7 separate regions of the Homo sapiens genome follow, and regions 1, 2, 4, 5, 6 and 7 are each linked to region 3. Evidence: promoter capture Hi-C in human tissues and cell types (Jung and others, 2019). All regions are on one chromosome and are shown on one strand. Each heading gives the region's core, a stretch centred on a gene start or on the middle of the fragment in contact. The rest is flanking DNA. Distances are from core to core; before and after follow the strand shown. Region 1 has its middle 250 kb from the start of LINC02490. Region 2 overlaps WDR72 (WD repeat domain 72). Region 3 holds the start of ONECUT1 (one cut homeobox 1). Region 4 overlaps WDR72 (WD repeat domain 72). Region 5 overlaps WDR72 (WD repeat domain 72). Region 6 has its middle 210 kb from the start of LINC02490. Region 7 overlaps WDR72 (WD repeat domain 72).

What was found. Contacts are between HindIII fragments. The study calls those that stand out against the background at their distance.
Region 1: a fragment that was not itself captured here is called in contact with the fragment with the promoter of ONECUT1 in region 3 in 2 of the 25 tissues and cell types used here (dorsolateral prefrontal cortex and mesendoderm cells).
Region 2: a fragment that was not itself captured here is called in contact with the fragment with the promoter of ONECUT1 in region 3 in 2 of the 25 tissues and cell types used here (dorsolateral prefrontal cortex and spleen).
Region 4: a contact is called between a fragment that was not itself captured here and the fragment with the promoter of ONECUT1 in region 3, in 3 of the 25 tissues and cell types used here (dorsolateral prefrontal cortex, liver and mesendoderm cells).
Region 5: a fragment that was not itself captured here is called in contact with the fragment with the promoter of ONECUT1 in region 3 in 2 of the 25 tissues and cell types used here (dorsolateral prefrontal cortex and mesendoderm cells).
Region 6: a fragment that was not itself captured here is called in contact with the fragment with the promoter of ONECUT1 in region 3 in 2 of the 25 tissues and cell types used here (H1 embryonic stem cells and spleen).
Region 7: a fragment that was not itself captured here is called in contact with the fragment with the promoter of ONECUT1 in region 3 in 1 of the 25 tissues and cell types used here (dorsolateral prefrontal cortex).

What each region holds. Positions count from the first base shown.
Region 1 is chr15:53,368,512-53,371,859 of GRCh38, reverse strand. No RefSeq gene overlaps it. Among named protein-coding and RNA genes, the nearest start is that of LINC02490, 250 kb to the right of the region's middle. The HindIII fragment of the contact is 4,841 bases long and covers 1-3,348 here.
Region 2 is chr15:53,519,936-53,523,376 of GRCh38, reverse strand. WDR72 (WD repeat domain 72) reads left to right here. Exons shown (of 20, transcript NM_182758.4): 19 at 55-159. The region is part of intron 5 of LOC105370826 (a long non-coding RNA gene); the gene reads right to left. Among named protein-coding and RNA genes, the nearest start is that of WDR72, 240 kb to the left of the region's middle. The HindIII fragment of the contact is 7,774 bases long and covers 1-3,441 here.
Region 3 is chr15:52,788,346-52,791,671 of GRCh38, reverse strand. It overlaps ONECUT1 (one cut homeobox 1), which reads left to right and starts at 1,336. Exons shown (of 2, transcript NM_004498.4): 1 at 1,336-2,892. The coding sequence starts at 1,788. LOC105370824 (a long non-coding RNA gene) reads right to left here and starts at 1,242. Exons shown (of 2, transcript XR_001751550.2): 1 at 1-1,242. RefSeq lists enhancers at 1-280, 281-1,049, 1,046-1,340 and a silencer at 1,229-1,298. The HindIII fragment of the contact is 12,558 bases long and covers 1-3,326 here.
Region 4 is chr15:53,653,382-53,656,688 of GRCh38, reverse strand. All of the region lies in intron 14 of WDR72 (WD repeat domain 72), which reads left to right. Among named protein-coding and RNA genes, the nearest start is that of WDR72, 100 kb to the left of the region's middle. The HindIII fragment of the contact is 4,562 bases long and covers 1-3,307 here.
Region 5 is chr15:53,602,261-53,605,457 of GRCh38, reverse strand. The region is part of intron 17 of WDR72 (WD repeat domain 72); the gene reads left to right. Among named protein-coding and RNA genes, the nearest start is that of WDR72, 160 kb to the left of the region's middle. The HindIII fragment of the contact is 3,426 bases long and covers 1-3,197 here.
Region 6 is chr15:53,324,747-53,327,992 of GRCh38, reverse strand. No RefSeq gene overlaps it. Among named protein-coding and RNA genes, the nearest start is that of LINC02490, 210 kb to the right of the region's middle. The HindIII fragment of the contact is 5,329 bases long and covers 1-3,246 here.
Region 7 is chr15:53,733,596-53,736,929 of GRCh38, reverse strand. All of the region lies in intron 1 of WDR72 (WD repeat domain 72), which reads left to right. Among named protein-coding and RNA genes, the nearest start is that of WDR72, 24 kb to the left of the region's middle. The HindIII fragment of the contact is 3,948 bases long and covers 1-3,334 here.

The sequences.
Region 1 (3,348 bases), core at 208-2,707, 580 kb before region 3:
AAAAGACAGTTCAAACTAGAGCATTAAGAACAGAGACATAGGGATTACCCTCACGGGAAATGCCATTGACCAAATCCTAGAAGTTGGGAATAAATGATAGTATATGAAATGAAAGACTTAGACTTGTGCAAAGTAGGAGCTAAACCTTAAAATTCCATATAAAGCTAATACACTTGAAGGTGCTGCAGATTCATGATGATGGCTAAACAAAAATCTGTGTGGGCAAAGTGAGCCAACAAGGAATCTCATCTTCACAAGAAAATAAGATTTCAAAGATAAAACTTCAATAGGAATTCCAGAATAAAATAAACAGCTTCACTTCAACAAATTTAAAATGTGTACAATTTGAAAACACAAAAAAACACTTCTAGAAAAATATACTTAACGAAATGTACTGAAAAAGAAATTTAAAAAATTAATATTGACATTCCCATTAAACAAACTCTAGGCCCAAAACATATTACAAATAAGCTTTAAAAACTTTTAATAAACAGATTCTTGCAGCTATATGCAAATTCCTCCAGAAATTAGAAAATAGAGTGAAAACTAACCCCTCATCTTCTTTTGTAAAAATGATATAGTCTTAATGTCAAAACTTGTCAAGGACATTACAAGAGAGAATGGTTACAGGCCAATTTCATTTATAAAACATAGATGCAAGAATCAGAAACAAAATATTGGGAAATGGAATTTAGCAATATATTAAAAATATAATAGATCATTACCAAGTTGAGTTTGTTTCAGTAATTCAAGATTGGTTTAACTTTAGAAAAATCGATTAGTGTAATTCACTATATTAATAGATAAGTAAGAATAAATGATTTGAGTAGATGCATAAACATTTTATAAGATTCATGATAAAATTATTTTTAGTAAATTAGAAATACAAAGGAACTCTGTTAACCTCACTAACAGAAAACTACAAATATTATCCTAAGAATTCTCTTGAATATCAGAAATAAGACATATGTCCAGAGACCCTGCTTCCATTCACCATTGTCTTCAAGATCCTAGCAAACATGGTAAAACAAGAGAAATAAATAGGAAATAAAAACAAGAGAGAAAAAACTCTCATTATGCACAGATAATATAATTGCCAATATAGAAGCTCCAAAAATTCCACAAAAATTGTTATTATGAAGAAGAGAGTTTAACTAGTTGGGTAGACATAAATTACTACATGAAACAATTATATGTTCATATACTAGCAACAATATATATATATAATTTATAATAGCAACAAAAAGGGTACCTAAGAATAAATATAATGAAAGATTTCCCAACTGTTAGAATATATAATAGTATTTTATTTTAAAATGTTAGCTTATTCTATGTTTTTATAATCTGCTCATAGTGGTTACCATAGAAGATATATATATATCCACATAAGATATTAAATATCCATATAAGATATTAAAATTACTATTTTGTACAATCAGTATTCATTTAGATTTACCCACAGGTTTATCCTTTTTAGTGTTCTTCAGTTTTTCCCATATATTCATGTTTTCCTCTGGGACCATTTTTCTTCTACCAAAAGAATTCCCTTTAATAGTTTCTTTTTCTTTTTAATTAGAGTTATTGATATATAATTTTATGCAATAAACTTTTACAAAGTTTAAGCGTGTTTTTTCAAAATGATAAATGCTCTCAATTTTTTGTTTTGCAAAAACATCTTTATTCACATTTATGTTTGAAGGATATTTTCATCGGCTATATAATTTTAGGTTGGCAGTTACCTTCAGAACTATAAACTTTTTTCTTGCTTCCATGATTTATTTTGAAAAGTCAAGTATCAGTTTTATTGTTGCTCCTTTGAAAGTAATGTCATTTTCTTTTTCTCTGTCAGCTTTAATTATTTTTTTCTTTTCATTGCTTTTTAGCAATTTAACTATTAAGTCTATTTTGGTATGCTTTTCTTGTTAAACAGCTTGGAGTCTGTAGAGCTTCTTAAATCTGAGAATTGATGTTTTTCAGTTTTTTGAAAATTTATAGCTAGTATGTCTACCAATATTGCTTCTGCACCGTTTTTTTCTCTCATTCTAAGGCTCCAATTATACATTTGTTAGACATAGATACTGTGGCATTTTTTAATACTCTTGTTAGTTTCTCTGTACTAAAATTTTTTTCCTCTTTGTCCTTAAGTATGGATATTTTATATTGATTTACCTTCTGATTTTACAAATCTGTCTTCTTCTGTGTCTAATCTCCTGTTAAACCCACCTATTCAGTCCATAATTTCAATTATATTACTACAATTATATATATTATATTTTAATTCTAGAATTGTCATTTTTAATAGGTTCAAACTCTTTGAAGAATTCCTCTATCTTGTCATTTCTTTTCTTGAGTTATGAATCACAGTTACTTTAATGTCGGTGTCTGAATTATCTGATATCTCTATTGCCTATTGATCTACTTCTGTTTTCTCTTCGTTTTTTGGTCATTTGATCCTGTATTCTTCTATGCCTGTTAATTTTTTTATTGAATACCAGACATATACAAAATTATAGTGATAACAAAGCTCTGGTTGCTGTTATCTTTTCCCAGAGAAGCTTTTTACTTTTAAAGTGCTGGTAAATAGGAACAGATTGCCTTATTCCATGAGTGGGACTGACAGAGCTTGTTTGAAGTTTGGTCGTGCTCTTTTCTGTGTGCCAGTCTATTACTAAAATATACTAAAATATAGCTTTTTAAGGATTCTTAACTGAAAGTCTAGAATTAATAACAGCACTCTTCCTACTTATCCCACCCTCACCTCCAATTTGTGTTTCCCCAGCACCACAATACTGAAAAAACTGTATCTCAGCTTCCTAACCACCGAACTATCACTTTTTGCTCTGCTTTTCTCTCGCTCCCAAATCCCTTAAAAATCAGCAAATTCCTCAAAAGGCACAATACTGTAGAATATCTCACTTTGTGGGCTTTCCTACTCTGAAATTTTTTCTTCTTCAGTCCTGGCACCTTTGAAAGCTGTCTGATGTGTTCTCTTTGAATGGATGTTCTCGATATTTTGTCTAACTTTTCTAGTTGTTATTGATAAGAAGATTGGTTCCTGGAAAGAGAATCTATCATTAGTGGAAGTCATTAAGAAATACGTATATTTTAATAAAGCTGGAATCATCACAAATCCGTACTGATACTTCTAATTCAAATTCAGGAATACAGTACTTTTACTTAACCTCACTGATCTTACATATGTATCTCCTTTATCCCATGTCAAAAGCCACAGTTCTCAGTGACACTCAGATAATTACTCATTTGTTTTAGCAAATATATATACCATATAAAACAGATAATTAAAAAAGCTGAAACTATCAATAGAAATGATTATGGAAACCAGTTTAA
Region 2 (3,441 bases), core at 160-2,659, 730 kb before region 3:
ACTTTTTCATCCTCTCTCTTCTGTCTCTCTCTCTCTCTCTCTCTCTTTTAATAGCTCCAGTCAGCCCGGTCAAGCATGACAGCAACTCAAACTCGGCAAACTTCCAAGACGTGGAGGACATGCCTGACAGATGTGCCTTGGAAGAGTCTGAGAGTCCAGGTGAAAGCCATTTAAAAATAGTCAAGTATAAAATGATAAATTTGACACAGCTTTGGGGTCCTTGGAAGGGGGTGAGGGGAGAGGACATTGTAATGCTGTTTTCTCTTAGCAGCTGCACTGTCAAATTAATGGTCACCTCCAGGGGTCACAGTGTGGAGCTGTTATCTTTTCCTCTTTCATCAAGAATTCAGTTGGAGGAAGTACAAAGGCTTTATGACTGAGAAGGGAAGCTGACACTATTAGTTCATTATCATCAATTTTAGGCTAAATGGTTAATAGAGCCAGAGATTGGAAACTATAGAGAAATGGCAACATTTTAAATATTTCAAATAATGGAAACTAACAAGAGGGGAGCGGAAGTGGACAGACGGGGGTGAAAAGAGAAACTGTCATCATTACAATTCTATTTACCTTTCTAGAAACAAACAGGACTGTAACTGGGATGACAGGATTTTAGCATGATGGTAATGAATACTGTCAAATGTTTAGGGAAAATAAAGTCTAGAAAATAGTAACCCTTCTCTCATGCAATAAAAGCTTTTCTTTGTCAAAGTTACATATTTGTATATATCCTTTATAGAAATAAAAGAGAAATGTACTAGAAGGATACAGCTAGAAACACTTATACAAGGATTTCTGTTTCTATTTTTGTTTCATTTTGAAACACGCCTAGCCTTAACTAATTAATTAGAATCAAAAAATCTTGTAAAAGTCGAATGAACATTCCTGGATAAATACAAAGTTATAAGGTGCTAGAAGGTACCTTATTATCATGAATGAAAGAGTTAAATATCTCCTCCACTTAATATTTGTGATTCCTGTTTTATCTGGCTCCTGTGTACCCTCTACCCTCTCACATCTTTGTGTGCTGATCCATGTATCATATTTTTGATTCATCCTCTCTGTGGCCTGTCAGCTTAGTTAAGAGATTTCCAAATCTTGTAGCCTTTGTTGACAGGGGGCAGCTGCAAACAAACAGTCCCCTGATCCTTCCCCAAGGAGAGTTACTGAGATTTAATTTTCAGTGAAAGGTGCAGCCTGCAATCTATGTCAGGTCCCCTAAGTCATCTCGGAACCCCAATAGGCGCAGTGGCGATGGCATTGTATATCAGTCCTCTTCACTCCACCAAGATTCCTCTGAAGATGGACTGCTGCCCTGTGCCTGTTCTCAACCACACTTCTGCTTTCAGATCCCATGGAACTGAGAAATGGCATCTTTAGCAGTGACAGAAATGTTTAATGAGCAAATTAACCCCACCCCTTGCCATAATAGCCAAAAGAAAAATGTAGATGAGTCTCACTCTAAAAGGGAGAGGGTAAATAAATGGTAGTGTTAAATTTCTATAATAAAAATTATTTATCCATTACTTTTAGTTTTGACTAATGTTGCCAAATTTTTATTAGGTTTTAAAAGTGTCTTAATACAGTTTTCTATTACTCATTTTGTCAGACAGGTAAATCTGTGAATCAGGTTTTTACCTAAATGTCCATTGTTTTTGATAAGAATAGATCAGCTTTATATCATTTCAAAAGTAGAATAAATTTCCATCATCCCTTAATATGAATGGAATGGGAGCGAGATTCAAATATAACATTCTCTATCTGATTGATACACACAAACGTGTTTATCAAGAAAGAAAGATTAATTAGAAAATATAGGTGCTGATAAAGAATCTTAACTCAAAAAGTGAGTACCGTTCTATACATCGGACATCATTATGCTGGTAATAAAGAATGAATTACTCTGGCTTTTTCCTCTGTCCCTTCCTGCATTTTAAGACATCTTGCCTTATAGGCCTAGAAACCTCTGGAGAGTTCACTACTGGTCTCACTGCCTTCCACTGAGAATTTGTGGCTTGGTTGTCATGGAGACATCGTATTTCTCCAAGAATTGCTCATATTGATCCGTGGCCAGGAGTAAATGGCCAAGCCAGTGTGAGGAATAAAGGGGGCTGGGCAGTCCTATAAAATGACCAGGGCTTGTGGGTTGGAAATAAGCTCATAGCAAACACTTAGCTAAAAAGAAAGAAGCAGTTTTATTTTGTTTTAGGATTTCTTTCTGCACTTTGGGCCATTGTCTTCTTTCACTGTGAACTGAAAGAAACTTGTTAGTCACTTGTCATGTCAGATCTTTGGTGCTTGTCCTGACACAGCTGTCAGCCTTCCAGCTCTGTGCAGTTCAGGGACACACAACAAAGAGGCAGTGACATGAATTATTTATTGCTCCTTGTGTGGATAAAATTCTGTGATAAGAAATTAAGACACTTCTGACAGAGGTGCTTGTTTAGTAAGAAAGATTTTGATGAGAGAGTGTGTTTCCTTGAAGCATGAGTATTCGATGGGCAAAATTCTTAAAATTGAACATGGAGGAAAATAAGTTTTATGTTTCTCGTGTGAATTTGGTGGCAGAGAGGGATGTTCTTGAACTATAAAAATATGACTTTTCACTTTTCAAAGCCCAAACGTTAACTTCAAAATATCAAGTCTTTCAAAATGTAGGGGTTCCAAAACCATAAGCATTACTCTAGTGGTTTAGTTACCTCTATTTACCACATGTGAGTGGTGTTTCTCTGGAAAATATTAACTACCTCAGTCAGAAGAAGAAACAAATTTGGGGTTTTTAGGTGGTGAGATTTGGGAAAATGTCCTCGAACCAGAAGAGGTGCTTCAGTAGCTAAACTTACAATTGCATTAGTGTATTCCTTAGTCACTGTATGGAAAAGAGTGCATTTAATTCTGAATGCACATTCTTACCATTTTCAACTGGAATGTTTTCATTCATTTAAAATTCCTTTTAACATTTTTATGTACCTGCAAAATCCCCCAGTTACAAAGCTGAATGTGGTCAATCTTCTAACTTTAATGGATATTGAACTTACATGGTTTTATCTATGCAATGCTAAATGACTAATATAATTATTACATCATTTTAATGAATAGCTCAGTTGTTTGAACAGCATATAGAAAATGAAAAAAAGTATTTTCCATGCAAACACAGTTCAAGTATATTGCTTTGTATATTGTTCATTCCACATAAATTCTCTTCTTTGCAAACCTTGTAAACATCATTTTACTTTAAACTCTTCTGGTTTTATATTGTGAATACGAACGTATTTTCATAGGCAGAAAGCAAAAGGGACATTGAAGCACAGAAAAAGTTTTTGGAAAAAGTGAAGTTGATATTTAGATGTTGATAGAGTTTTAAAATGTCATTAACAAAGCCAAGTTGCTTGAATTTATATAAAATAGAAATAACCACTTCGTGTATTACCTCTGAATACA
Region 3 (3,326 bases), core at 87-2,586:
TAACCACCGCTTGCCTGGGGCTGAGGCTCGGCGCTGACCCGGCCATAACTGCCACGGGCTGGACAATGGGCACATCTGTCCTTTCTCTGAGGGATGAAAGCACCTAAGCGGACACGGCTCTGCCTTTTGTTGCGGATTTTTTTTCTTTCTTTTGTAAATGAAAGAAAGCCGCGGCATGTGGCGGCCGGGTGTACGTCTCAAACTGGGGGCCTCCGCACACGTCCCCACCAGGCCCAAAGACCAGGTTCGATTCCAGATTGGAGCGTGACTGTGGGAAGGGCGAAATTACTCCCGAAGCTGAATTGATTTTCAAATCTGGAGGCGTCTCTCGGGGACGCCGGGAAAAGGGCGTCCCTAGGGGCCAAGCGGAGACCCGCGCGCCGGCGTCCACCCTGTCTGCGTCAGTACTTCTGGAAAGCAACCGCCTCCGGGTGCTTTAGCAGGAGGGCCTTGGGAGTAACCGCAGGGACGGCCCGAGCCTCCACGGCCCCACCAGCACCCGGAAGTTAACATGGGTACCCTCCAGGGCACTCCCTCCGCTCTCCCTCGCCCCCCTCCACAGGCCGAGTCATCGGCGAAGCGGACGCACAGCCTTAATTATGAGCTGAGCGGGAGAAGGAGCCAGGCGGCGGGGGACAGTGAGGTATGGCCCGAACTGGGATTCTTGGCACTGATTACTCCTCTCCCCAGGGCATGGATGAGAAAGGGTGGGCAAGTATGTATCTGGGAGGACGAAGGGTGCCGGGTCAACGGCCGCCAAACGGACCCAGCCCTTTAAGCAATCTGCACCCCACCCCACCCCAACCCCCATCCCCCAATAGGCCGTGAATTCAAGGGTGGGAAAGCGCACTCCCAGCAGCCCCCCGGGAAATAAAGCTTAGTGGGCTAGAGCCGAAGGGGTGATGACACAGTCCCCAGCTCCCCGGGCAAGCTGCACCGGGAAGCAGCAACTGGAGAGAGAGGGGCGATGTCTCCAAGCACAGCACTCCAGCCGCTAGAAGCCCGACACGAGCGTCCCCGGGCTGGGAGGACAGAGCCCACTCAAGCAAGGGAGGCGAGCGAGCCAGGCGCGAGTCTCCTGGGATTGCAGCGGCGGCCCCAGGTCGCGCTCTGCGCCAATCTTTCGCACGTGCCCGCAGCTCCCTGGCCATCCAGCGCCGCAGGGAAGGCGCTGGGCCCCCTCCTTCATTTGTACCGGGACGCCAAGGGCCTGGCGCGCCGCGACCTAGGGGGCGGGGGCGGGCCTCGCGCATGCGCGCTGCGCCTGGCGGGCGTGAGGGCGGGCCGCTGCGGCGGCGGCGGCGGCGGCTACCGAACCGCGGCCACAGAGTCTGTAACAGTAACAGAGCCATGGCTCAAGCTGGCCAGCGGGGCGGGCAGGCAGCAGACGCGGCAGGCGCGCGGGCCGCGGCAGGGGAGCCGGAGACCTCAGAATTTTAAGAAAGAGAGGGGCGAGAGGTGGCCGAGGCGGGCGGGCTGGGGCACTGCGCTCTCCCAACGGCGCGGATCCTCTTTGGAAATTAATATTAAAAAAAAAAAAGCCGAGGACGCAGAGGGGAAGGTGGGGGGTAAGAGGGAAGGCGAGACACACACACACACACACACGCACACGCACACACGGACACACACACACGGAGAGAGAGAGAGAGAGAGACAGAGCCCCACAGTGAGAGGAAGGAAGGCAACAGTCGCCAGCAGCCGATGTGAAGACCGGACTCCGTGCGCCCCTCGCCGCCTCTGCCTGGCCACATCGATGTTGTGTCCGCCGCCTGCTCGCCCGGATCACGATGAACGCGCAGCTGACCATGGAAGCGATCGGCGAGCTGCACGGGGTGAGCCATGAGCCGGTGCCCGCCCCTGCCGACCTGCTGGGCGGCAGCCCCCACGCGCGCAGCTCCGTGGCGCACCGCGGCAGCCACCTGCCCCCCGCGCACCCGCGCTCCATGGGCATGGCGTCCCTGCTGGACGGCGGCAGCGGCGGCGGAGATTACCACCACCACCACCGGGCCCCTGAGCACAGCCTGGCCGGCCCCCTGCATCCCACCATGACCATGGCCTGCGAGACTCCCCCAGGTATGAGCATGCCCACCACCTACACCACCTTGACCCCTCTGCAGCCGCTGCCTCCCATCTCCACAGTCTCGGACAAGTTCCCCCACCATCACCACCACCACCATCACCACCACCACCCGCACCACCACCAGCGCCTGGCGGGCAACGTGAGCGGTAGCTTCACGCTCATGCGGGATGAGCGCGGGCTGGCCTCCATGAATAACCTCTATACCCCCTACCACAAGGACGTGGCCGGCATGGGCCAGAGCCTCTCGCCCCTCTCCAGCTCCGGTCTGGGCAGCATCCACAACTCCCAGCAAGGGCTCCCCCACTATGCCCACCCGGGGGCCGCCATGCCCACCGACAAGATGCTCACCCCCAACGGCTTCGAAGCCCACCACCCGGCCATGCTCGGCCGCCACGGGGAGCAGCACCTCACGCCCACCTCGGCCGGCATGGTGCCCATCAACGGCCTTCCTCCGCACCATCCCCACGCCCACCTGAACGCCCAGGGCCACGGGCAACTCCTGGGCACAGCCCGGGAGCCCAACCCTTCGGTGACCGGCGCGCAGGTCAGCAATGGAAGTAATTCAGGGCAGATGGAAGAGATCAATACCAAAGAGGTGGCGCAGCGTATCACCACCGAGCTCAAGCGCTACAGCATCCCACAGGCCATCTTCGCGCAGAGGGTGCTCTGCCGCTCCCAGGGGACCCTCTCGGACCTGCTGCGCAACCCCAAACCCTGGAGCAAACTCAAATCCGGCCGGGAGACCTTCCGGAGGATGTGGAAGTGGCTGCAGGAGCCGGAGTTCCAGCGCATGTCCGCGCTCCGCTTAGCAGGTGAGCCGGCCAAGGAGCTGGGCGCGCGGGAGATAAGGTACACGAAAGCCGAAGGGACCAAAGGAGGAAGGGTAGGAGAGAGGGCTGGGTGCGCTTCATCCCGCCCGCCCCTACCCCTAGAAGGGGGACTCCCTGTGCCTGGAAGGGCCAGCACAGGGCTGTGGGAGCAAATTGCCTACTCCAGGGCTCAGGGTGTTGGGCTGTGGAAGGCTCCGAGAGCTAAGCGGCCGGGCCTCGGCGACTGAAGAGGCTCATTTGCGCTCAGGGACAGCGAGGGAAGCTCGTACGGCCTGAGGCGGAGAGAAATCCCCGCACCTGGTGAGACACTCTGCGCCACCTCTCAGTTCAGCGATCCGGGTTTGGGAAGAGGGATGCAACGCGTGCGTGGAATCGCACGCAAATGTTCCTCGCAGGTACCTCTGACACATCCCAGG
Region 4 (3,307 bases), core at 132-2,631, 860 kb before region 3:
CAAACTATTAGTTGCTTATAACTGGAAAGAAATGGAGGAGAATAAAATCTTTCTTGTTGAAAGCTGGTAATACCACTTATTGACTGAGAGTACCATGTGGACCCATTTAAAGCAATCCCAACAGGAGCACTACTTCTGTACCAATGACTTATGTTGAAACTGGCCCTAAGAGAGTAGCAAATGCAAAAAACTAACAGGAAGCAATTCTCAAAAAAGAAAGCATTTATTTTCATGGAATATTTCCCCATACTATTAAAAACAAAATGTATTAAGACTTTATCTTTATTTATTGGAACTAAGAGCATGAACTTATTAAAAAAATACATCCAGCTAACGTTCTTGCCCATTTTTCTGAATTCTGTTTTAATAGTGATGCCCTGAAGGCACCACCAGTTCTCTGCATCTCCAAATGACGTTTATTTATTTGTAATTTTTTTCATACTATATAGCTTATATAATTCTGCAAACAGCTTTAATCCTAAATTAAAATATCCTGCATAATCTTTTGGTTCAAGTGTGATTATTCCTGTCAGATATAAAAATGATCCTAACAAGCTGCTGTGAGCAGCAGGGGCTTTCTTATGCACATATTTAACTCCATGCACAATCAAATGGGACTGAAAATTGTAGTTGTTCTATGTCTTCGCATATTGCCCAAAACCTGATGACTTTTAGAAAGCCATTAAGAAAGCTTACAAAGCTGGGCACCATGGCTCACGCCTGTAATCCCAGCACTTTGGGAGGCCGAGGTGGGTGGATCACAAGGTCAGGAGTTCAAGACCAGCCTGACCAACATGGTGAAACCCCGTCTCTACTAAAAATACAAAAATTAGTCAGGCGTGGTGGCATATGCCTGTAATCCCAGCTACTCAGGAGGCTGAAGCAGGAGAATTGCTTGAACCTGGGAGGCAGAAGTTGCAGTGAGCCAAGCTTGTGCCACAGCCTGGCCCACAGAGCAAGACTCCATCTCAAAAAAAAAAACTTACAAAATGCAAAGTCCTGCTCACCTTCATTACTTTCTTCTGAGCTCCCACTAGAGGTCTCTTGTCGTTATATAAAACGTGGCCTTCTCCATTGATTCTCTGGTAGCAGATGTTTTGTTTTCCTTTTTCTTGTCTCTCAGGCCAATCTCTGTTTTACAACAACCATAGCATGACATTCATCATGTAATCAGATGGCAAAATATGGAAAGAATAGTATGGGTCCTTTCTCTTCATGTGTGATTATCTTGAGGCTCAAATGAGAAAATTATTTGACAGTTGACATCTCCCCAAATCTAAGAGGATACCTGAATCTTGAACTTTCACAAAGTTTTTATTATATGATTGTCAGTCCAAAATTGTTAATTACCAAGGACCTATCTTTTATTAAACCAGATCAATTATAAAGTCAGGTTGATAGATGGTAACAAATTGTCTTTAAGATCTCTTTTTTTTTTTTTTTTTTTTTTTTTTTTTTGAGATGGCATCTTGCTCTGTCACCCAGGCTGGAGTGAAGTGGTGCGATCCTTGCTCATTGCAGCCTCTGCGTCCCAGGTTCCAGCGATTCTCCTGCCTCAGTCTCCTGGGTAGTTGGGATTACAGGTGTGCACCACCACGCTCAGCTAATTTTTGTATTTTTAGTAGTGATGGGGTTTCACCATTTTGGCCAAGCTTGTCTTGAACTCCTGACCTCAGGTGATCCACCTGCCTCGGCCTCCCAAAATGCTGGGATTACAGGCGTGAGCCACTGCACCTGGCCAAGATCTCTTAAGCGTATCTTTATTTTATGACTTTAACATTTATGTATGCTAACGATCAGCTTAAAATATCTTGAGGCATATTTTTAGTAATTAAATTTCTGGTGTTAACAAGGATGGAATTAGTAAGATAGAAGCAGAAAACTAACAGTTCTGAGTGTGTTTTGTCAAAATTTTCACTTTTTATGATAATCCAATTAATCATGACAAATTATGCCCTCAATATACATCTGATTTAAATGGTCTACCTTCTATCTTAATCAAGATAGCTACTGAGATTAGTTACAGAAAATTCAATGAGCTGCATGGTGAGGAAGTGTCCATATAACACACAGTACCTCAGATGATGGTTTGCTTCACTGTTCTTGTGCACCTACCGCAAAGGCCCAGCTATGGGGCCACAACTTGATGTTTTTTTGCCTTCATCTAATGTTCTACGTCCATTAATTCTAGGACCAAGTTCTTGTATTTTAAAACATTGAGTTATTATATTTTATCAGACTTCAGTTTTGTAACAGGAAATAATTATCAAAATCTGTTTATCTTTCACTAATTAATAAAATCTAAGGATATGGGCCCTTACTTCTCTATCTGTATAAAGGGTATAATAAATGGGTATTTAATTCACAGACAAATCATGAAGTATAATGGGACTAAGTAATATAATCTACGAAAGTCTCGTTATGTATGAATGATACATCATATCTCTTAAATCTTTTGCAGCCCTCTTGTGGTTACCTGATGTCTTCTTGATAAATCATTTAGTATGGTTGCTTTTGATTCTTGTTTTCAGGATATACTGAATTTCATTCAGCATGAACACATACATCATATTATAATTAAAAGTTTCTTCACTTGAGAATTAGAGCAGGTTTTGTCAGTAGTTTATGAGTGATACTTGGGAAAGAACTCTAATTGATTTTTACTATCCACTGGTAATTTTGTGTTGATTTCCAGACTGGGTATATTTAAGCATAATCAAAACCTAGGAAATATCCTCTTTAATATTTCAGAATGTTCATAAAATTCAAATTTCTATTTAGTACTATTATTTTAAAATATATTATATCTCCTAAACTAGGAACTCTATTATTTTCTTAGCAAGAGTATCTTTGGAGTTATAAATTTGATTTTGACACTTATCATGTGGGGCAGGGGATGTCCCGTAAGGTTTACACATATTCTTCAGCCATAATAATTTCCAGTCTATTGAACTCACATAACTGTTTATGAAATATTATTTTCAGCTTCCACAAGCATGACAGAAAGAAAAGAAACTAAGAATGAGCATTCCATTATTATTAATCTGAGTTGCATTCATTCTTGTGATAAAAACCCAAATCAAACATCATACATTAAAAAAGATGAAAAACGTCAACTACAGGTTCAGTCCCATGACCCAGATATTTAATCCCCAACTATTTGGCCTCATTAAAGAAACTCATATTTCCACTGATGTTAGTCTTTTGCCAGAATATTTTCACCTCAATTCTATACCTTCAAGTCTAACTTCGATGTCAGTTTACCATTATGCAGGTAGCAGCCCACTTTCTGTTACTCTCTTTCTCA
Region 5 (3,197 bases), core at 301-2,800, 810 kb before region 3:
TCATAGATAAACTTGTGTATGGGGGTTTGCAGTACAGATTATTTCATCACTCAGGCATTAAGCCTAGTACTCATTAGTAGTTTTTCCTGATCCTCTCTCTCCTCCCACCTTCTGTTCTTCAGTAGGTTGCAGTGTAGGTTGTTCCCTTCTACGTGTTCAAGTGTTCCCATCATTTAGCTCCCACTTATAAGTGAGAACATGCAGTATTCGGTTTTCTGTTCCTGTGTCAGTTTACTGGAGGATAATGGCCGCCGACTCCATCCATGTCAGTGCAAAGCACGTGATCTTGTTCTCTTTTATGGCTGCATAGTATTCCATGGAGTATATGAGCCACATTTTCTTTATCCAGTCTACCATTGATTGACATTTAGGTTTATTCCATGTCTTTGTTATTGTGAATAGATCTGCAATGAACATACATGTTCATGTGTCTTTATAATAGAATGATTTATATTCCTTTGGGTATATATCCACTAATGGGATTGTTGGGTTGAGTGGTATTTCTGTCTTTAGGTCTTTGAGGAATCACCACACTGTCTTCCACAATGGCTGAACTAATTTACATTCCCACCAACAATGTATAAGCGTTCCTTTTCTCCACAGTCTCTCCAGCATCTGTTATTTTTGATTTTCTAATCTATAATTTTTTGACTTCAACATTCTGACTAGTGTGAGGTATTATCTCGTTGTGGTTTTGATTTGCATTTCTCCAGTGATTAGTGATGTTAAGCTTTCTTTCATATGATTTTTGGCCACATATATGTCTTCCTTTGAAAAGTGTCTGTTCATTTCCTTTGCCCATGTTTTAATAGAGTTTTTTTTCTTGTAAATTTGTTTAAGTTCTTTGTAGACTCTGGATGTTAGACTTTCGTAAGATGCATATTTTGCAAAAATTTTCTCCCATTCTGCAGGTTGCCTGTTTGCTCTATTGATAGTTTCTTTCGCTGTGCAGAAGCTCTTTAGTTTAATTAGATCCCATTTGCCAATGTTTGCTTTTGTTGCAGTTGCTTTTGGCATCTTTGCCATTAAACCTTTGCCTATGCCTATATCCCGAATGGTATTGCTTAGGTTATCTTCCAGGGTTTTTATAATTTTGTGTTTTACATTCAAGTCTTTAATCCATCTTGAGTTAATTTTTGTATATGGTGTAAGGAAGGGGTCCAGTTTTAATCTTCTGCATGTGGCTAACCAGTTATCCCAGCAACATTTATTAAGTAAGGAATCCTTTCCCTATTGCTTGTTTTTGTCAGGTTCACCAAAGATCAGATAGTTTTAGGTGTGTGATCTTATTTCTGGGTTCTCTATTCTGTTCCATTGGTCTATGTGTCTGTTCTTGTACCAGTACCTTGCTGTTTTGGTTACTGCAGCCCTGTAGTATAGTTTGAAATCAGGTAACGTGATGCCTCCAACTTTGTTCTTTTTGCTTAGGATTGCCCTGGCCATTCAGGCTCTTTTTTGGTTCCATATGAATTTTAAGATAGTTTTTTCTAGTTATGTGAAAAATGACGTTGATAGCTTGATATGAATAGCAATGAAACTGTGAATTGCTAGGCAGTATGGCCATTTTAATGACGTTGATTCTTCCTATTCATGAACATGGAATGTTTTTCCATTTGTTTATGTCATCTCTGATTTATTTGAGCCATGGTTTGTTGTTCTCCTTGTAGAGATCCTTCACCTTTCTAGTTGGCTGTATTCCTAGGTGTTTTATTCTTTTTGTTGCAATTGTGAATGGGAGTTCGTTTGTGATTTAGCTCTCAGCTTGACTGTTGTTTATAGGAATGCTAATGATTTTTGCACATTGATTTTGTATCCTGAGACTTCGCTGAAGTTGCTTAACAGCTTAAGAAGTTTTTGGGCTGAGATGATGGGCTTTTCTAGATAGAGGATCATGACATCTTCGAAAAGGGTAGTTTGACTTCCTCTTTTCCTACTTGAATGACCTTTATTGATTTCCCTTGTGGAATTGCCCTGGCCAGAAATTCCAATACTGTGTTGAATAGGAGTAGTAAGAGAGGGCATCCTTGTCTTGTGCTGATTTTCAAGGGAGAATGGTTCTAGCTTTTGCCTATTTAGTATGATGTTGGCTGTGGTTTTTTCATATATGTCTCATTATTTCGAAGTATGTTCCTTCAATATCTTCTTTATTGAGAGTTTTTAACATGAAGGGATGTTGAATTTTATTGAGAGCCTTTTCTGCTTCTATGGAGATAATCATGTGGTTTTTGTCTTTAGTTCTGTTTATGTGATGAATCATATTTATTGATTTGCATATGTTGAACCAAACTTGCATCCCAGGGATCAAGCATACTCGATCATGGTGGGTAAGCTTTCTGATATGCTGCTGGATTTGGTTTGCCAGTATTTTGTTGAGGATATTTTCATTGATGTTCATCAGGAATACTGACAGGAAATTTTCTTTTTTTGTCATATTTCTGCCAGGTTTTTGTATCAGGATGATGCTGGCCTCATAGAATGAGTTAGGGACGAATCCTTTCCTTTTCTATTTTTTGAAATAGTTTCAGGTGGAATGATAATAGCTCTTCTTTGTATATCTCATATAATTCATCTGTGAATCTGTCTGGTCCTGGGCTTTTTTCGGTTGGTAAGCTGTTTATTTAACTGCCTCAGTTTCAGAACTCATTATTAGTCTGTTCAGGGATTCAGTTTCTTCCTGGTTCAGTCTTTGAGGGTGCATGTGTCCAGGAATTTATCTATTTCTTCCAGATTTTCTAGGTCACGTGTATATATTACTAGCTTATAATATTCTCCGAGGATTGCTTTTCTGTTGGGTCAGTGGTAATATCCCCCTTATCATCTCTGATTGTGTTATTTGAATCTTCTCTCTTTTCTTCTTTATTAGTCTAGTGAGTGATCTATTTTATTTTATTTTATTTTCCAAAAACCAGCTCTTGGGTTTGTTGATCTCTTGAATAGATTTTTTTGTGAGTTATCTCCTTTAGTTCAGCTCTGATTTTGGTTATTTCTGGTCTTCTGCTGGCTTTGGGATTTTTTTGCTCTTGATTCTCTAGTTCTTTTAGTTGTGAAGTTAGGCTGTTAACAAGAGATCTTTCTAGTTTTTTGATCTGGGCATTTAGTGCCATAAATTACTCTCTTAACCCTACCTTAGCTTTGTCCCAGAGATTCTGGTATATTGTATCTTTGTTCTTGGTAGTTTCAAAGATCTTTTTCATTTC
Region 6 (3,246 bases), core at 662-3,161, 540 kb before region 3:
CCTAAGTCGTGTAAGTTGTGTGTTTCTTACCCCCAATGAAACTGAACCCTTAAAGGCATACCATGACTTCTAAATCTCCTACCTGCCAAGAAACTCAGTGCTAAATCTAGTGCTCAACTGCAGCACTTAACTCACTTCTAGTGCCACCTTCTAGTTCATTATTGAGCTGTCTTCTTAAAATGTTTATTTCAGTTCTCCTACTTAATGTGTGTTATAATCTTTTAAGTATCTTCAAATACATTTTGGGAAAGGGCAAGAAATAACTACTTGTTACCAAAGTCACTGAGTCCCGTGGTTCCTTCTCAGCTCGCACCCACCTCTGCCCTTCTCTAACTTTTGATGCTGCTGCTGGCTGTCACATGGAAACACCCTCCTTGTTCCATCTCTGTCATGCTCTGTCTCTACTTTCTTTGCTCTCTCCTTGTCCTGCCTGAGGCAGACACAGTTCCTGCCATTTGCCCTAGTTCTCTCTTCCCCTTGTTTCTACTTTCTTTCATCCCCACCCCATTCTCTCTCCAATGGATGTCCCACTCAGTGCCATGGTTCAACTAGGACTGAGATGTCAATGACATGGGTGCCAGTTCAGGCTCAAGCCCCAGGACTACATTTCCAGTGGCCTCTTCAACAGTTCTTGGAAATGCTATGGGTACCCCAGACTTGATAGATCTAAAATTTTCTTTCATCTTCTTCCCATCCTCTTCATTTTTATTAATGACATCACCAGATCCTTGGTCTCCTAGATTTCAAATTTCAGAGCCATCTTATACTCCTTGCTTTCCATTATTCCATAATCCATTAATAGCCAAATGCTGCCAGATCAGCATCCTCCATGTCCCACATTTGTCTCCTCTTTTCTATCCCCTCTGCCTCTGTCCTAGCTCCAACTCTCATTCGTGCTTCCTTCCCTATATCCCTGCTGCAGTCCCCTATTTGGCTTCCCTGCTTCTAGTCCTTCCCAATGCCAATATGGTTTTACACTGTGCCAGAATAATCTTCCATAAATACCTCTCTGACCATATGACCCCCTGTTCCTATACCTCTGATGCCTGCCCAGTGCCTAGAGAACAAAGGCCAGATGACTTGGCATTCCAGTCAAGACCCTACAGGATTTGGGCACCAAGATCCTTTTCCTTACTGTCATCTATTTCCCCTGCCTTTTAGTTCCAGAAAACTCCTTGTCCTTTCTCTCTTCCTTGCCTTGATTCATACTCTTCCCGTCTCTTCATCAATACCTAACCAGTTTTCAAATGCTTCCCTGCCTAAATCTTTCCTAATCTCTCTAGCGAGACCCATCTTTCTCATCTGTATTTTGCTAAACCTTTATTAACATTTGGTATCAGTCTTACAGGGAACTCATTTTTTTTAAAAAAATTCCTATATGCTGGGCTATGTGTTTCACATTTTGTACTTTTCAATGTTTACAATTCCATGAAATGGGTTTATTAAAACCATTTTGTAGATGGAATAACAGGTTCATAAAGCCAAGCTACATGGGCAGTGAAGCACAGTGGCTCTTCAGACCATACTCCCTACACTCTTTACACACCAGATAACCTCTTTTAAATAAGTATTCCACTTCGTCCTCCCTTAAGAGCTACAGAAATCTAAGAGAACTGATATGACTACTTAATAGTGATAAAGTAGCTCTGTCTTTGGACTGTCCTAGTCCCAGTTCTTTGTGTGGCTTTTCTCCTTTTAGACCCTCTTCTGATATTTGGTTACTATTGCCTTTTAAAGGTTTCATTATTATGCATAATGTATTCATCGAAGGGCAGCATTTCCTGTAATTTATGTCTCTTCATTTTACTACTCAGCAATTCCTCAGTATTTAACCTCATAAATTTCCAGTTATTGTCCTATATTTACACATTGCATCTGCTGGAGAAGTCTGTGCAATTTATTACTACGTGGAAGCTAAAGGGACACAAAGAGGGCGAATCTTCTGCTTATGCCCCTACTATCTAAGTCAGATTGCTCATGATTAGGAGCAAATAGTCTCACCTACCTCCACCCTTTTGCATTTATCTTATTAAATAACATAAGGGCCAAATTTCCTTGACTTTCCAAAATCATCTCCTATCCATCCCTGGGACCCTGAACTGCTGGCCTCAAAGCCCATTTGAGCTGTCAGGCATTTCCTATGCTGTACCTCTCAGTTTCCTGGGCTGCCAGATCCTCCTCCTCTGAAAGGTCAAACAGTACTAAAACCTCACCTCATCTGGCTCTCAGTCCCCTTTGTTTCTCTTATATTGTTCTGCCATTGCCCTAAAGCCAAAAGATCTTTGGGGCAGCGGCCCTGTTTGGTGTTTGGCACAATTTCATTTACTGAACATCTCGATGTACATTTATGATGCCATATAACTAATAATAAAAACAGGACAGCCTAGGGCATCGTTTTTTATTGTCAGCTCCGTGGCAGCTGTGGGGGATGGGGAGGCAGAGGATAGAGAGTGCAGGAATGGTGCAGGACTCCCCAGGAGAGGCCAGTCCTTGCTGAGCCCATTCTGCAAGCCACATTCCTTCCCAAATGATCCAAACCTTGTCCAGACCCTCTCAAAGAGCCATTCCAAGCTTTCTGAACACTCTGCAACTGTGCAGAAGGCCAGATCAGAGGCTTTTGTGCACTACCAGGGAGGTACCTAAGCTGTGCACCCCACTATTTTTCAGATGGCAAGTTTGCCCACCTTTAGGCATGTGCAGAATGGATGACAGCAGAGCTCACGCAGATCATCACTGCTTGTTGCTAAATTGACGTGGCTGTCCTCGGATGCCATCAGCTGTGCAGTAATCCATATTAATAGCTGGGCTTCAAAGTAGCCATTTGTATGCTTTGCCTTTCTCTGTGGCTGTCTACTCTTTGTGAATATGGCCTGGATGGTATATGCCCCCGATCCTCTGACTTGGACTTCAGCATGTTGAAAAGGCTATTACTAGGTTTTAGAGGCAAAAACTTGCTCTTTGAAAGTGTTATTAGAAGGCAGCATAGAATAATGGAAAGAGCCTTGACTCTGACATTAAATGGCCTGCCTTGTGTTTCAGGTCTGCCCTTTACTAGCTGTGTGATTTTGTGTAAATTACTCAACCTCTCTGAGCCTCAGTTTTCTCTTCTGTAAGTAGAGAGAAGAGAATAATTCTACCTCACAAGGTTGTTTAAAAAATTCTGTGTAGTCTCTTTGTATATTAAAGTAAATGTATACATTATTTGCTGAAAAGTGCTACGTAAGAGGTCATTGCTATCATTATTTT
Region 7 (3,334 bases), core at 478-2,977, 940 kb before region 3:
TTTTCCTTTCCATATTTCTAACTCTTTTTTTCTAACAGTAAGAAATCTGATTCCTGTTATAAATAAGCAATATACTAATTATTTGCCATCAGTCTGTTATGTAACCAATTTCCTGTAAACGTGCTACCCTGTCCTCTGTGTGGATGCCCTCCTGATCATTTTCTGGCTTTAACACTTCTTGTGGACCTGTCCACTGCCTAATATGTGAAAATCCTGCTTATCCCTGTATTCCTTTACTACATCTGATTACATTTTCAGGCAGCAACTTTTCTCATCCTACAAGTGCTCTCAGGATGCTCAACACCCCTCAGTGTGCATGCCTTCCTATCCTCCTTGGGCTTCAACACTTTGTGCCAGACCATCCTTGTAAATTGATGTCCTCCTCACCCTGCCCAAGCTCTGGCCCCTCACAGCAGGGCCACTTCCTTCACTGTCCTCACCCCTGTTAGGCTCATGACACTCCTTGTTGAGGAACCTCATTATGTGAGCTCCTTTCTCACTTGTTCCTGCTCCAATACCCAGTGCCAGACAGCCCTGTATACATTACTCCTCTTCACCCTCCTTGGAGGCTGCACCTTACATGCAGCTGCCCCCACATTTGGACACCTCACTCACCATCCCTGGCCTCTGACTCCACTGTCTTCCTATCCTGATGCCCTCCTCATACTATTTGAACTCCAACACTCCACTCTTGCTCTGTTCTATTAATATTCCATGGCTTTAGGACTGAATTAGCAAAGAAGGGAAAGGGTTCTATCATTTTTGGAGCTTATATTAGATAAATATTGGGTCTTTTCACTTAGCATCTATATCTCTTAACATCTCTGATTTATCTTAATGTCTCTGAATTCTTTTTACTCAACATTTTCATTTTTTTTTAATGACTTCTTGCTGTATTCTGGGAAATTTCCTGAAAATTGTATTCAAGTTAATTATTCTCCCTTCACTTGGGTCTATTCTGATTTGTCCTTTTGAGATTTGTTATATTTTAACGATTATGTTTTATTTCTAGAAGTAATATTTGTTTCTTTTAAAAGTCTACCTTTTGTAGGTTTTTTCTTTGGGTTTTTAATTTCATCTTTTGTCTATTTATTGATTTATAATAATTTATTATATTTGTTCTTCTTTTGAAATATGTTTTAGATTGTTCACTTATTATTAGTTCCTGGGGTACTAATCTTTCTGTTTGCTCATGGTTTATCTTGAATGTTTTATAATTTTTTATTGTAAGATTATTTGCTACTGGGGCTAATTGTTTTACAGAAATCTCGTTCACTCTTGATAGTGAGAGTGTCTTTCAGAATGCCTTAAGTACAACATTAAACAACTTTATTGAAGTATAATTGACACACATAATATTTGTGTGTATACATAAATGCATTTAAAGTATAAATTTGATTAAGTTTTGACATATGTATACCCTCATGAAACCATTACCATAATTAAAATAATGAACTTATCTACCACCTTCAAAACTTTTCTTACTCCCCATTGTAATGTCACTGTTCCCTGTTCTTTCTTTCCCTGAGCAATCACTGACCTATTTCTGCCAAACTGTTTTCCATTGTACGTTCCCCCCGTCAGTGTATGAGTTCCAGTTGCTGTACATTCTTCTTAATACTTGTCATGGTCTTTTTTTTCCCCCCTGTCTTGCTCTGTAGCCCAGGCTGGAGTGCAGTGGCACAATCTCAGCTCACTGCAACCTCCACCTCCTGGGTTCAAGTGATTTCCCCACCTCAGCCTCCCGAGGTAGGATTACCAGTGTGTGCCACCATGCCTGGCTAATTTTTGTATTTTTAGTAGAGAGGGAGTTTCACCATGTTGGTCAGGCTGGTCCTGAACTGCTGGGTTCAAGTGCTCCACCTACCTCGGCCTCCCAAAGTGCTGTGATTACAGGCCTGAGACACTGCGCCTAGCCATTAACACTTGTCATGGTCTTTTAAAAAAATTTAGATATTCAAATAGGTCTGTAGTGTTTCTGACAAGCCTCCCAATAGTATCATTGACCTGGAAACAATTTTTTATATATAATTATTATAAAAGTATTATACATAACTCCAGAATCCCCATGTGAAGAAATTCATTCCGGAATTATATATAATATTATTATTTTTTTTTTTTAGTCCCAACCCATTTGTACTTCAGGCTTGACAGATTTTTCTTGGGAGATTTGGAAATACTCTTTCTTATCTTCCTGGGGTAGTTTTTCTGTTCCTCTTTCATTGAGCAAGGCCACTTCTGAGAGTTTTGCTTCCTATCCTTACATAGGGATTAATATGCAAACTCCTAGCCAAAAAGCCACATACTAATTTAGTTCTAATACTTATTGTACTGGTTTTCTGGTTTCTCTTAGTTTTTCACTGCTTGGGATTTTCCAGACTTATTGATAAGCTTGGTCAGGAAGCAACAACTTAAAAATAGGTATAATGCATTTTTCTCTGTGTTTGAAGCAGAAGAAGGTCCATGTTCTGGTTACAGTATTATTGAAATCAGAACTCTCTGGGTAGCTTTGTAGTATGATTAATATGTATAATCCTGGTATTCAGAATTGCAATGCTCAGAACATTTCCTGTAGAAACTTTGGCTTCATGGTGTTTGGACATGGCAGTTAGAATAATGCAAGTGTATTATAGACTAGATAGACTAACATATTGACCTAAGAAGTGAAAATGGGGAACTAGATACTGAATTCCAGACAATGGAACTACAAGGAAAATTTGTGTTCATAGTGTCAGTGCACACCCATGTTTATGTATATATTTGTGTGTGTGTGTGTGTAGACATATAATTGAACATTAGAAATAACATGTATCATAAGTTTTAAAAATTTATATTGGTATTTACACTTTTGGTGGTTTAGCAACAGAAATCCTGCAGGACAGAAGGTTTTCATTTTCTTGACTTTCTCAAAGCAATGTGGGAAGTATGCTTGGCCCCTTTCTCCTCTCTTTCGGACATTTTTAATGGGATTAAATATATAATGCTAAATTGTCTCCCAAAATTGTTTGTGTTTCAGGAAGGAATGACAATTTGGGGAGAATATTTAACTCAGTGTTTCACAAAATATAATGCACACATCACTGAGTGATACTTTGGGTGGTCATAGATAACATTTTTTGATACTTATGTATTCATTTTAACCCTTGTAACTAACATATGAATGTAGTAATTTCATAAAGATTATTGTTTAGGAAGATACCAAACATAAAAATAGGTAAAATAAAAATTATTATTAAAAATAGAATATGGCAGAAATCATGACAGTCATACATGAATCTTGAAGACTAGGAAACACTGTTTTTATGGAAAAGATTTATTTTTTTAATAGCAAATT